Regions from separate parts of the Homo sapiens genome. Here regions 1 and 3 are each linked to region 2. Evidence: promoter capture Hi-C in human tissues and cell types (Jung and others, 2019). All regions are on one chromosome and are shown on one strand. Each heading gives the region's core, a stretch centred on a gene start or on the middle of the fragment in contact. The rest is flanking DNA. Distances are from core to core; before and after follow the strand shown. Region 1 overlaps PARP3 (poly(ADP-ribose) polymerase family member 3). Region 2 holds the start of GLYCTK (glycerate kinase). Region 3 overlaps PBRM1 (polybromo 1).

Region 1 (4,713 bases), core at 1,174-3,673, 340 kb before region 2:
CTGTCGTCACTCAGTTTGTCATTTGACAAACATCCACTGGTTCAACACATCATTCCTGGGCATCCCGGAGGGCTTCAAAAAGAGGAGTTGTTGACTGAGCATTGAAGGATTAGTACAAGTTTCCCAGAGAGAAGTCGGGGAGGACACCCCAGGCAGAAGCCCCAGCCCCTGCAGTGGTTTGGAGGTGGGCAAGGTGGAAATGAGCAGGCGTGCCCTGTGACAGACATGGAGAGCATAGGGGGCAGGACTTACTCGTAAGGCCTGGGACCAGTGACCCCTGGGCCACCCTGGCCCTTGCTGTGCCCTGCAGATCCGACCCAGGACACTGAGTTGGAGCTGGATGGCCAGCAAGTGGTGGTGCCCCAGGGCCAGCCTGTGCCCTGCCCAGAGTTCAGCAGCTCCACATTCTCCCAGAGCGAGTACCTCATCTACCAGGAGAGCCAGTGTCGCCTGCGCTACCTGCTGGAGGTCCACCTCTGAGTGCCCGCCCTGTCCCCCGGGGTCCTGCAAGGCTGGACTGTGATCTTCAATCATCCTGCCCATCTCTGGTACCCCTATATCACTCCTTTTTTTCAAGAATACAATACGTTGTTGTTAACTATAGTCACCATGCTGTACAAGATCCCTGAACTTATGCCTCCTAACTGAAATTTTGTATTCTTTGACACATCTGCCCAGTCCCTCTCCTCCCAGCCCATGGTAACCAGCATTTGACTCTTTACTTGTATAAGGGCAGCTTTTATAGGTTCCACATGTAAGTGAGATCATGCAGTGTTTGTCTTTCTGTGCCTGGCTTATTTCACTCAGCATAATGTGCACCGGGTTCACCCATGTTTTCATAAATGACAAGATTTCCTCCTTTTTTAAGGCTGAATGGTACTCTGTTATGTATATGCACCACATTTCCTCTATCCGTTCATCTATCAGTGGACACCAAGCTGCTTCCATATCTTGGCTATTGTGAACAGTGCTGCAGTGAACTGGGAAAGCAGACGTCTCTTGAACATACTGATTTCATTTCCCTTTGATGTATACCCAGTAGTGGGGTTTCTGGATCCATATCACCCCTTCTTGCCAGGCTCCCCTGTGTCCCAGACATCGATCCCCCTTCCCTCCAATCCCTGTTAGCCTTGATGTGTCTGTGGCCCCAGAGTCTTGCCTCCTAAAGTGATGGGTGTGGTACGGGCGTATTACAGGGACACAGATGCAGCAGCTTACTCAAGGGGCACAGCTGAGAGTGGCTTGGATCCCACATCCACCCAGGCCGTCCATCCTGGCCTGGACTGCATGTTGGAGCCATGTGGTCACCAAGGTAGGCTAAACTGCAGGCATGTGCAAGCAGCTTTACTAAACATGGTATTCTCTTGCCCCAGCCTCTGCCTGTCTGTGCCACAACTGTGCTGGGCCTGGGCCTCCAGCCACACTCCAGGGAGCGAGCGCTCACATGGGTTGATGTGGATCATGCACATACTCCTTGCCCCTCCTGGTCCATCACTGCAACAACCTGCTTCCTCTAATTGAGCCTTCAAGGGGGACCCCCACTGTCTACTCAGAACTATTTGTCATCTGGGGACCCACCTGGTGATTCTGTCCTTTATCCCAGACATTGCCAGGTGAATCAAGCATTCTTCATGTCTTGGCACCAAACATCCCTTTGTGTCTTTTTTTTTTTTTTTTTTTTTGAGGCAGGGTCTCACCCTGTCACCCAGGCTAGAGGGGAGTGGTACAACCACTGCTCACTGCAGCCTCAGCCTTCCCAGGCTCAGGTGATCCTCCCACCTCAGCCTCCAGAGTAGCTGGGACTACAGGTACATGACACCACACTTGGCTAATTTTTGTGTTTTTTGTAGAGACAGAGTTTTGCCATGTTGCCCAGTTTGGTCTCAAACTCCAGGGCTCAGGTGATCCTCCTTCCTCTGCCTCCCAAAGTGCTGGGATTACAGGTGTGAGCCACTGCACCCAGCCTCCTTTGTGTCTTAATCTAAATGTTACAAACAAGCTGAGCATATGTCAGAGGGGCACAGCTCTGCAATCATGAAAGGAGGCTGTTCAGGCAGGAATGCCAGTGATCACCAGGCAGGTCATCCTATCCACAGACAAAGGGTGCCATTGCTGGAGGAGGCCAACATCCAGGCTAGGGTTGCACATTGCATTTAGTTGTTGTGTCTCTTTAGTCTCCTTTAATCTGAAAACACTCCTCAGCCTTTTTTTTATTTTATAACTTTGACATTCTTGACACTCTTGAAGAATACAGGCCAGTTGTTTTATAGAATGTCTATCAGTTTAGGTTTCTCTGATGCTTTGTCGTGATTAGATTTAGGTATTGCATGGGCAGGAATGTGACATAAATGATATGCCCTAGGGAATTCCATCTGTAGGGGCATGGCCCATTCTTGGTGATGTTAATTAATTTTAATCATCCATTAAGGTGATGTCCGCCATGTTTCTCCACGGTGAAGCTACCATTTCTCCCCTTTGTAATTAATCAATAATCTGTGGGGAAATATTGTTGGGTGTAAATGTCCCTTTCCTCATCACCTTTCACCCACTAGCTTTATCCATCGATGATAACTTAACTGAAATCAACTACCTGAATCAATTTTTGCTAAGATAGTTGCAAATGGTAGTTATCTAACTCCATCATTTCTTTTATCTGTATTAGTTTCTGTCTTTATTATCAGTGTAGACTCATGGATTTTTATTTTATTCAGTGAGTTATAATCCATTACTGTCCTCAATTATTTTGATCCTCAAATTGTCCCAGATTTGGCCAGCAGAAGGTCCCTTCCGTGTCCCGATCATTTTTTGAGCACATCCTTTCTCTCTGGCATCACAAGATGTTCCAGGTTCATCTCGTACGAACCGGGAATCAGCCATTTCTCCAAGGAGCCCTGGTTTCCTGGAGCAGGAAATGTTTAGAATCCAAGATCTGGGCAATAGATGTGCTCCTTGGTACTGAGGTGTCATTGCTTTTAAGTCCTTCCAGCAAAGAGAGCTAAGGAATGTGTCTATGTGGCTGGGCGCAGGAGCTCTCACCTGTAATCCCAGCACTTTGGGAGGTCAAAGCCGGAGGATCTCTTGAGCCCAAGAGTTCAAGGCTGCAGTGAGTTATGATTGCAACACTACATTCCAGCCTGGATGACAGACTGAGACCCTGTCTCTAAAAAAATAAAAAAGGAAAAAAAAGGGGGGAGACAGAATATGTATGTGTGAATAAATAGCAAACACATCTCTCTATATCTATTTCTCCAGTTCCAGTCAAACACCACAGAGTTCTTCCATTCTTCCCCAATTCCCTATTTCCTCGATTCTTAAACAGTAAGAACCTGGGTTTCTATCAACATCAATATATCTACTTATTTGCTCAATCCTGCACAAAAAGGAGTTTCAGAATTGCCATACCCATACCCTGTGAAAAACAAACATTCTAAATAGAGCTCAAGATGTATCTGATCTTACTCAGTATTTTTTTTTTTTGTCGTTAGATTGAGGGTCCATGGTCAAAGTAACAGTTTGAATACACGTTCAGATGTTACTTGGATTGGTTCTTTCTCTTCAGTGTGGTTATTTTATTCGTCTGAAATACAGGTAGGCTCAGTCATTTCTGTCTACATTCTTCTTTGTTACTTTATTGTTTTCAATATGTAGAACATTAACATAGTTCCAAAAGGTCCACTCTATGCAAGCTGTGCTCAGAAGAGTCCTTCTATCCCCCACACTCCATTCCTACTCACCTGCTGGAGGGAGCCAGTTTCATTAGTTTCTGGCATATCCTTCCTGTGTTTTTTTTTTTTATTTTGTTTTGTTTTTTGGAAATTTTGCAATACACATACACACATACACATGCTAAGGAAGTGTTTTAATTTTTTATTTATATTAATGATGTCGAAGGGAGCATGAACTCTGCAACCCACCACAGTCCCCACCCCTCCCTATCGCGTTCCCCAGTCCACTTTTCTCATTTGCTGTTCCCACTTGGCCCCACCGAGCTCTCTCCAGGCTCTGGTAACTCAGGGGCTGCCCCAGGCCTACAGGGCTGCCTGGGTAAGGACCAAAACTTCAAAAATCCATCTTCACCTCCTAGAGGCAAATGCCCAAATTCAAGTTGTAGCCAAGGACAGGAAGGGACAGCTGTGTGGACAGAGCTCTAGGAAGCAAAACTCAGCTGTGTGACCTGGGACCCATTTCTCCACTCTACTTTTCTCATCTGAATAATGGAGAACTGCGCTGGAGCCCTTTGAATTCCAGCACAAAATCAGTTAAACCAGGAGGTCCATGTCCTGTCTTCACCATCTAGATCTGCAGCAATGCTGACCGTGTGTCTGTGAGGGGTGCTAGGGCCACAGGCACAAGTGAGGCTCAGATGAGGTCCCTGCTGTCATGGAGCTTACATTCTAGTAAAGCAGGCTCTAAGCAAATGTATGCATAAATATGAAATACCACAGCAGGTAGGGAAAGTGCCGGGAAGAAAAATAAAGCAGGATAAAAGGATTTGAGTGATGGGAAGGTGGAACAATTTTAGAAAAGATGGTCGCAAGCTGGGCGCGATGGCTCATGCCTGTAATCCCAGCACTTTGGGAGGCCGAGGCGGGCGGATCACGATGTCAGGAGATCGAGACCATCCTGGCTAACACGATGAAACCCCGTCTCTACTAAAAATACAAAAAAAAAAAAAAAAATTAGCCGAGCGTGGTGGCGGGCACCTGTAGTGCC
Region 2 (4,145 bases), core at 600-3,099:
ACCTGCCTCAGCCTCCCAAAGTACTGGGATTGCAGGCATGAGCCACTGCACCTGTCCCAAAAACACATTTCTAATGTCAACCTAAAAATCATCAAAAGGTTCGATATCCAGTTAAAAGAATTTATTCAAGCATAAAGTGTGAGGGCAGCCATCCAGGGAAACACAGACACCAAGCAGTGGCAATTAGTGTTCTCCAGCATGGGGAAAGATGAAGGTTGTTTATATAGGCCGGGCGCCTGTAATTGTTTATACGCCTGTAATCCCTGCACTTTGGGAGGCCAAGGGCGGTGGATCACAAGGTCAGGAGTTCGAGACCAGCCTGGCCAACATGGTGAAACTCTGTCTCTACTAAAAATACAAAAATTAGCTGGACGTGGTGGCGGGCGCCTGTAGTCCCAGCTATTCGGGAGGCTGAGGCAGGAGAATTGCTTGAACCTGGGAGGCGGAGGTTGCAGTGAGCCGACATCGTGCCCAGGCTGCAGTGCAGTGGCCGTGAGCTGAGACTGTGCCATTGCAGTCCAGCCTGGGTGACAGAGCAAGACTCCACCTCAAAACCAAGAGAAAGAAATGTGTTTTTGTTTGTTGGTTTTTTTTTGAGACAGGGGCCCAGGTTGGAGTGCAGTGGCGTGATCAAGGTTCACTGCAGCCTCTACCTCCCAGGCTCAGGTGATCCTCCCATCTCAGCCTCCTGAGTAGCTGGGACTACAGGAGCATGCCACCACACCTGGCTCTTTTTTTTTTGGTAGAGATAAGTTTCGCCATGTTCCCAGGCTGGTCTCGCATTCCTAGGCTCAAGCGATCCGCCCACCTTGGCCTCCCCAATGTTGGGATTACAGGCGTGAAACACTGCGCCCTGCCAAGAAACATGTTTCAATAAAATTGTTAGGAAATCAAGTGTGTGATTTGTGATGCAACTCTCTCCTCTATCTCCCTAAGAAAACATCAGTAAAAACAGTGAACTGTTTTGTATTTTTGGAGTCTGATCAGGACTCATCTTATGAATGTGGGAAGGCATCCAGCCAACACAGGGTAGGCCCCGGATGAGAGTAGGGACAGCGAGGTAGGCCCAGAGTCATTAGCGTTTACATGCCGCTTATGTGCTTGAGGATCGCAGAATGGAACTCTTGCTAAGCCAGAGCTGTATTTGGTGGCCCATGGTGGGAGAGGGAAGAACAATAATAAGTTGTGGAATAAAAGCCATGGAGAGGAGCGGGAATTACTTAATCTGGCTCCAGAAGGGGTGAGTTGTGGGGAAGTAGTGATTCTCAGTTCGTTTGCTCAGCCCAGTCAGTGCCTGACACTCAGGGTGCATCTGCTGACTGACCGTACAGGATAAAGGAAGGGAGAGGCCGGGTGCGGCGGCTGAAGTCTGTAATCCCATCACTTTCGGAGGCTGAGGTGGGTGGATCGCTTGAGGTTAGGCGTTCGAGACCAGCCTGGGCAACATGGCGAAAGCCCGTCTCTACTAAAAAATACAAAAATTAGCCCGGAGTGGTGGCACATGCCTGTAATCCCAGCTACTCGGGAGGCTGAGGCATGAGAATCGCTTGAATCCGGGAGGCGGAGGTTGCATTGGGCCGAAACCGCGACTCTGCACTCCAGTCTGGGCGACAGAATGAGACCCCGTCTCAAAAAAAAAATCGGCAATCGGTGAGGCGGGGATTATTACCCTCAATGTAGAGATTTAAAAAATGAGGACTGAAGGTGACTCCTTCCAGGTCTGTCAGTGGCCAGCAAAGAGCCAATATGCTAAACTCTCCCCTCCCGGACACCGGCTTCAGCCAGAGCTCGCACCCGCCTGCGCCGCTCCACCCACCCACACTTCCGGCTTCCGCTCCGCCCACCCCCTAGTACTTCCGTTCTCCAGCGCTGGGCACCGCGGCCGGAGCTGTGGGCTGGTAAGTCTGCGCCGCCAGGGCTCGCATGGCCTTCAGAAGCGGTCCCTGGGCTGGGCGATGACGGGTCCTGGTGGCAGCAGGCCCTTCTTTCTCGCATCACCGGGCATTACGCGGCAGCCATTTCCCTCGCTAAGGCCCTACCTTAGGATGACGTCACTTCCGGCCCCCTACTGTCTAGGGAAAGCCGGAAATGGTACCAGCCTTCTTTGATGGCGGGGAGGAGTCAAGACCGGTAGTCTTCCTATTTCCGTTGTTTTGCTCTGGAGCCTCCCGGAGTTTCGGAGAGACCGTGTCTTGGATAGAATTGGAGGACTTAGCAAATAAAAATGCAAAGCGTCCAGTTACATTTTTTTTGAGTTAGAATCTCACTCTGTCACCCAGGCTGGAGTGCAGTGGCGCGATCTCGGCTCACTGCAACCTCCGCCTCCCCTGTTCAAATGATTCTCATGCCTCAGTCTCCCGAGTAGCTGGGATTACGGGCGCCCACCACACCCGGCTAATTTTTGTATTTTTAGAAGAGACGGGGTTTCACCACGTTGGTCAGGCTGGTCTCGAACTCCTGACCTCAGGTGATGCGCCCGCCTCAGCCTTCCAAAGTGCTGGGATTACAGGCGTGAGCCACTGCGCCGGGCCACGTCCAGTTAAATTTGAGTTAAGATAAACGACGAATAATTGTTAAGTCCTAAACATTGTATGCACATACTTATACTTTAAAAATTACTTGTTTATTTGAAATTCAAATTTAACCGGAAGTCCTGTATTTTCTCTGGCAGCCTTAGCATTGAGCGTCCCCCTGTCCTGTGCTCATACCCAGTGGCAAGGCTGGGATCTTCTAGGCTCTTGTCCATCTGGGAAATAGATACAAATTTCATCCAGGCTATAAAGACCGGCTGTCTTAGTTGCTAAGATGCTTTTAGCTCCAAGTCCAATGGGCAAGCTCCAGGGGTCCCCCTGGCCAAAACTGGACCCATTTTCGGAATCCCCATGACGATGCCCTCTGTGTTCCCTTTCACAACAGAAGTCAGGCATGGCTGTCTTTTCTTACCGGAGAGCTGAGAACTAGGCAAGCAAAATGGTCAAAGTCTAGAAGTAACCACCATATTTGGGTGTGGGGTAAACCGGTGTTTGAGATCTGTGTTGCAGTGGACAGTATCAGAGAGCCTGAGGTTGTTAAGGGAAGAGCGTAGTGTTAATCTCACCCCATGTCTCATTTTGCGGATGAGGCCCAGTGAGAGAAATGGAGGTGTCCCAGCCACTCAGAAAGCCTATAGTAGAGCTGGAACCTCAATTCCCAGCCTCCTTACCCTGCTCAGTCCATACTTGCTGATGAAGTCAGCTTGCAACATTTATGGTAGGCATTTATTAAAGTAGATGCAATAGTACATATGTAGTACAGATGAGCTGTTTGGGTCTTTGTTGTTCCTATACCCCTCTACAGCTTCCTGACCTTCGCCCCAAGGCTTCTTTAGCTTTTACTCTGCCCAGTGGGGAAAATGGCTATGGGCTCAGTTATGGGAGCCTGGCCTTTGCCTACTTCAGCCCTTGGGCTCTCACCACTGTGGGTGGTGTGACCTAGGACTTGTTTTTGTTATCTTGGAACCAGAAGGCGTGTTCTTGGCAGGGTTGGGTCTGGCCAACTGTGTGGGTAGAAGGGCATCCTTTTCTGTCCTGCAATTGGGCTTCATGGCACATGGCCTCACATGGTGCCTGGGGACTTTTCTAAGGTTCCACCATGAGCCAGACTTTGCCCTCACTCCTGATTTGAACCTAAACCTCTTGCTGAACTGGTCCTGCATACTGAGATTCCTCAGATTGCTTGCCCTGAGGATGTGTTCTGGGTTTGACCTGATAAACCTGCAGCCTCCTATAGACCCTGACTTCCCAGGCTCCTAATCCCAGTCTCATGAGATAATGAAATAGAGAAGACTGGAGGTCAATGGGCTCAGGGTCAGTTGGTGGGACAATCAACAGCTTCCTGGCAGCAGAGGTGGTAAAGAGGCAAGGAAGGAGTGCCAGAAAGGGGCGTTGCCCCAGGGTAACAGCGCAGAAGTGCAGGGGGTGGAAAAGGGGTGGGATGGGAGCCCACTGGTAGAAATTACTCCCTCTGTCAATGATTAACTCCCAGCCAAAGGGGTGACCTGGGAGGAGGGCCCAGCTAATAGGAACTTTGGACTTGAGGCAGAGTATCCAGAGGGCCGGCATGTGGTCTGCAGAAGAGGAGGACGTGGCTGGGTGGCAGGGCTGGTC
Region 3 (4,556 bases), core at 1,925-4,424, 370 kb after region 2:
AAAATTTATCTGTGGTACTAGTAAGTAAACACTGTTACTCTTTACTACTCTCTTAGAGTTTAAAGTCAAAGAAGTTTCTCCTTCCTGGCAAACCACAGTGGCTATCAGTCTCATTTCTCAATGAAACTATGTAACACACTGTTTTCCTTTTTGCCTTACCTCCTGGGAGCAGCAAACCCTTCTTATCCTGGGAAGATCAGTAACTCACATTTATGAGGACCTCATGCTGTAGGTTCTATGTGAGATGCTTTATCTATATTATCACCAACCTCTATGACTCTGCAAAGTAGTGATACTACACGCAACATACAGCAGAGGAAGCAGGCAAATCACCTGACCAAAGTGACATAGCTGATTAAGTAGTAGAGCTAGAAAAACAACCATATCAGTTCTACTCTAAATACTCAATTTCTGGTACAATTTAGCTCTTTTTCCCTATACTTTCCCTTACTTCTAATAATCAAATTTTAAATCCTAGTCACTCAGTCACACAATTAATATTTATTAAGCACCTACTCTGTACAGAAACAGTAAGTGTAAGGGTTGAGAACACAGACTACAGCTAGACTGTCTGGATTCAAATCCTAGTTCTCCTTCCTAGGCGGTGATTTGGGCAAGTTACTTAACACTTCTGTGCTTCAGTTTTCTAACTTGTAAAATGGGAATAATAACAATACTACTCTGTGGAGTTTTAAGAATTAATTAGCTAATACACATAAAGCACTTAAAACAGTGCTAGGTACATAGCAAGTCTATGTGAGTGTTTAGTTGCCACTATTTACTGCCAGGGATACAGTGAAGGGGTAGGGTAGAGAGGGCCAAAGAGAAAAAAGTAGTATCTAATTCCACTGACCTTCCACTCTAACATCCGTTGTGGGTAGCTTTTATTCTAACGTATCCTAAAGCTATTTGGAAGCAGATAAAAATAAACAACAGGTTACCCCATCTACCCTGATGTGATTATTATGCACTGTATGCCAGTATCAAAATTTCATGTACCCCATAAATACATACACCTGCTATGCACCCACAAAAATAAAAAATTTAAAAATTAAAAATGAAATAAATCTTTTGTCACAAATGTATCTTTTATAATCAGAAATGTCGGTAACCAATGTGTTTTAATTTTTGTCCTAAGATGCAATCCAAAGCTACAATCAGTAACACTATTTTAATTTATTTACATGATTTGCTAATAACCCCTTACAGAGACAACTAGCTTCTCTGTTTTCTAAAAGCTTCTAGGAAAGATCATAGGCCAATCTGCTCTAAACCACAATCATTTACTTATGGTCATCTTCATACCTGTATCCTCTGGGCAATGGTCTTGAGATCTATAGGCTCCTTAATTATTGCATAATAATCTGGATATTGCTGGAAGACAAAAAACCAGGCATGCTCAATAAGTTAAACTATTCAGCTAATGAAAAGAGAAGGAAGTACATTGACAATCTGTTGTTCAAACAACCAGTGAAGCAGCTTTGTGAGATTCAAGACTAAAGACATGGCTGTACAGCACATTTATTATATCAGAACCATAAAGAATTTAATCTTAAGAAGCTTCATGATCTATCCAACAGCATGACTTAGGAGTTAAAACTTGGTATTTTGAGTGTTATTATGCAACTAGCATAAAATTTAATGTTTTAAAAAATTCTAGGCTGGGGCCGGGTGCGGTAGCTCACGCCTGCAATCCCAGCACTTTGGGAGGCCGAGGCAGGTGGATCACCTGAGGTCAGGAGTTCAAGACCAGCCTGGCCAACATGGTGAAACCCCATCTCTACTAAAAATACAAAAATTAGCCGGGCGTGGTGGCAGGCACCTGTAATCCCAGCTACTCAGGAGGCTGAGGCAAGAGGATCGCTTGAACCTGGGAGGCAGAGATTGCAGTGAGCTGAGATCGTGCCATTATACTCCAGCCTGGGGGACAAGAAAGAGACTTCGTCTCAAAAAAAAAAAAAAAAATTCTAGGCAGGGCACGGTGGCTCACACCTGTAATCCCAGAACTTTGGGAGGCCGAGGCGGGTGGTTCACGAGGTCAGGAGATTGAGACCATCCTGGCTAACGTGGTGAAACCCTGTCTCTACTAAAAATAGAAAAAAAATTGGCTGGGCATGGTGGCATACAACTATAGTCCCAGCTACTCTGGAGGCTGAGGGAGGAGAATCGCTTGAACCCAAGAGGCAGAGGTTGCAGCGAGCCGAGATCATGCCACTGCACTCCAGCCTGGGCGGCACAGCAAGACTCCATCTCAAAAAAAAAATAAATAATCTAAATTCGGCAAGGCGCGGTGGCTCACACCTGTAATCCCAGCACTTCGGGATGCTGAGGCAGCTGGATCACTTGAGGTCAGAAGTTCAAGACCAACCTGGCCAACATAGCGAAACCCTGTCTCCATTAAAAATACAAAAATTAGCCAGGCATGGTGGTGTGCGCCTGTAATCCCAGCTACTCAGGAGGCTAAGGCAGGGCAATCACTTGAGCGCAGGAGATGGAGGTTGCAGTGAGCCGAGATCACGCCATTGTACTCCAGCCTGTGCAACAGAGCAAGATTCCGTCTCAAAAAACAAACAAAAATTCTAAATTCACAGAATTATACAATTTTTCATTTAAGGTCCCAAGATATCTATGCCTAGAAATAAAGTAGAAGAAATGCTCTTTAGGAGTTTGTTACAAGCTCTTTTAATTTTGCAATCTAAATAACGTTATTATATAATATTCACATAAACTTTCATAAGGATCTGTAAGAAGTCAGGTTGCAAAATTTGTTAGCTTCATGTTTAACTTGATGCTTCTGCTTATTTCAGTCAAAGTAAGTTTTTTCAAAACAAAATACCTTTTGAATGAAACTTTGTTAAAGAAATGAAGCACGGCTGGGCATGGTGGCTCGCGCCTGTAATCCCAGCACTTTGGGAGGCTGAGGTGGGTGGATCACCTGAAGTCAGGAGTTCGAGACTAGCCTGGCCAACATGGTGAAACCCCATCTCTACTAAAAATTCAAAATTAGCCTGGTATGTTGGTGCATGCATGTAATCCCAGCTACTTGGGAGGCTGAGGCAGGAGAATCGCTTGAACCTGGGAGGTGGAGGTTGCAGTGAGCTGAGATTGCTCCATTGCACTCCAGCCTGGGCAAGAAGAGCAGAATTCTGTCTCAAAAAAAAAAAAAAGAAAGAAAGAAATGAAGCAAAATTCTGGTCAGGCATGGTGGCTCATGCCTGTAATCCCTGCACTTCGGGAGGCCGAGACGGGCAGATCACGAGGTCAGGAGTTCAAGACCAGCCTGGCCAATATGGTGAAACCCCGTCTCTACTAAAAATACAAAAATTAGCTGGGTGTGGTGGCGGGTGCCTGTAATTCCAGCTACTCAGGAGGCTGAGGCAGGAGAATCGCTTGAACCTGGGAGGCAGAGGTTGCAGTGGGCTGAGATCACGCCACTGCACTCCAGCCTGGGTGACAGAGCAAGACTGTCTTGAAAAAAGAAAAGAAATGAAGCAAAATTATTAGCAACTTCTGATTTATCAAATACTAGGTCATCCCAAGAAATTGAACATGTTGAGGAATGTCCTTGAAGCTTTCACAACAACCTAGAATCACTCACTGCACTCAGGCTTTCCTACAGATTTTCTTCCTTGGAGGAAATAACTGAAGTTGCCCAAATATCAAAAGTTGGTCTTATCAGATGGGAGAGGTTCAGGGGAAGTCAGATTGTGCTCTCCCAACTCTTCCCACCTGTTCAAACCCTACTGAAGCCCACGCAGCAACAACAAAAGCAGAAAGCCACAGCCTTCACTCAGTTACTGGGCTGAACAGATTATCTCAGTGTTGTTTTATCTCATCTGTCCCCTAAGCTTACCACTACTTTCTTAACCCTACTCCTTCCTTTACTTGGATGAATCTCCATTGCTGCCCCTTCTCTTCACCAGTTCTACTTCTGAGAGAAAGTTCAGAGGACAAATTATGGCAAGGCCACCCAGCATGGAGTACAAAGTAATTCAAAGTCATCCAATCCCACAAATTCCCAATCTATCTCTCCCATGCAGCCAGCTTGCTTGGGACGGACTTACTAAGGAAAGGTGAAAACTGTCCTGCCCCTTCAGCTGTCAATCCTTGTTGTCTTTCAAACTGTCACACCCTGAGAGACCAATAGAAACCTGCTTTTCCCAACCAGCTCCTTCAAGGTGACCTTGAAGGGGGAATGGGGGGAACTAATTATTGATGTTTCATTGCCCCATATCACTGTTGTTGATTTGACCATCACTGATTATCTCCTGCAGGGTAAGAATAAATCTTGAGCGAAGACAGTACTTCTATTTTGTGTGTATGTGTGCATGTGTGAATGAGAGTTGACAGAGAGCGAGAGAGAGAAAAAGAGACGGGGTCTCTTTCTGTTGCCTAGGTTGGAGTGAAGTGGCATGATCACAGCTCACTGCGGCCTTGAACTCCTAGGCTCAAGTGATCCTCCAAACTCAGCCCCACCAAACAGCTGTGACTACAGGTGCACACCACCATGACTAGCTAATTAAAAAAATTTTTTTTGTAGAGACAGAGTCTCAGCT

What was found. Contacts are between HindIII fragments. The study calls those that stand out against the background at their distance.
Region 1: a contact is called between a fragment that was not itself captured here and the fragment with the promoter of GLYCTK in region 2, in 1 of the 25 tissues and cell types used here (hippocampus).
Region 3: a fragment that was not itself captured here is called in contact with the fragment with the promoter of GLYCTK in region 2 in 2 of the 25 tissues and cell types used here (aorta and heart right ventricle).

Annotation. Positions count from the first base shown.
Region 1 is chr3:51,948,001-51,952,713 of GRCh38, forward strand. It overlaps PARP3 (poly(ADP-ribose) polymerase family member 3), which reads left to right. Exons shown (of 11, transcript NM_001003931.4): 11 at 311-867. The coding sequence ends at 480. Among named protein-coding and RNA genes, the nearest start is that of GPR62, 5.0 kb to the right of the region's middle. The HindIII fragment of the contact is 8,892 bases long and covers 1-4,713 here.
Region 2 is chr3:52,285,979-52,290,123 of GRCh38, forward strand. GLYCTK (glycerate kinase) reads left to right here and starts at 1,850. Exons shown (of 5, transcript NM_145262.4): 1 at 1,850-1,898. It overlaps GLYCTK-AS1 (GLYCTK antisense RNA 1), which reads right to left and starts at 3,755. Exons shown (of 1, transcript NR_046719.1): 1 at 2,602-3,755. It overlaps LOC107986086 (a long non-coding RNA gene), which reads right to left and starts at 2,042. Exons shown (of 3, transcript XR_001740699.2): 1 at 1,855-2,042. RefSeq lists enhancers at 1,435-2,176, 1,482-2,681, 1,508-1,617. The HindIII fragment of the contact is 16,985 bases long and covers 1-4,145 here.
Region 3 is chr3:52,650,437-52,654,992 of GRCh38, forward strand. PBRM1 (polybromo 1) reads right to left here. Exons shown (of 32, transcript NM_001405607.1): 7 at 1,306-1,374. Among named protein-coding and RNA genes, the nearest start is that of PBRM1, 33 kb to the right of the region's middle. The HindIII fragment of the contact is 3,551 bases long and covers 1,400-4,556 here.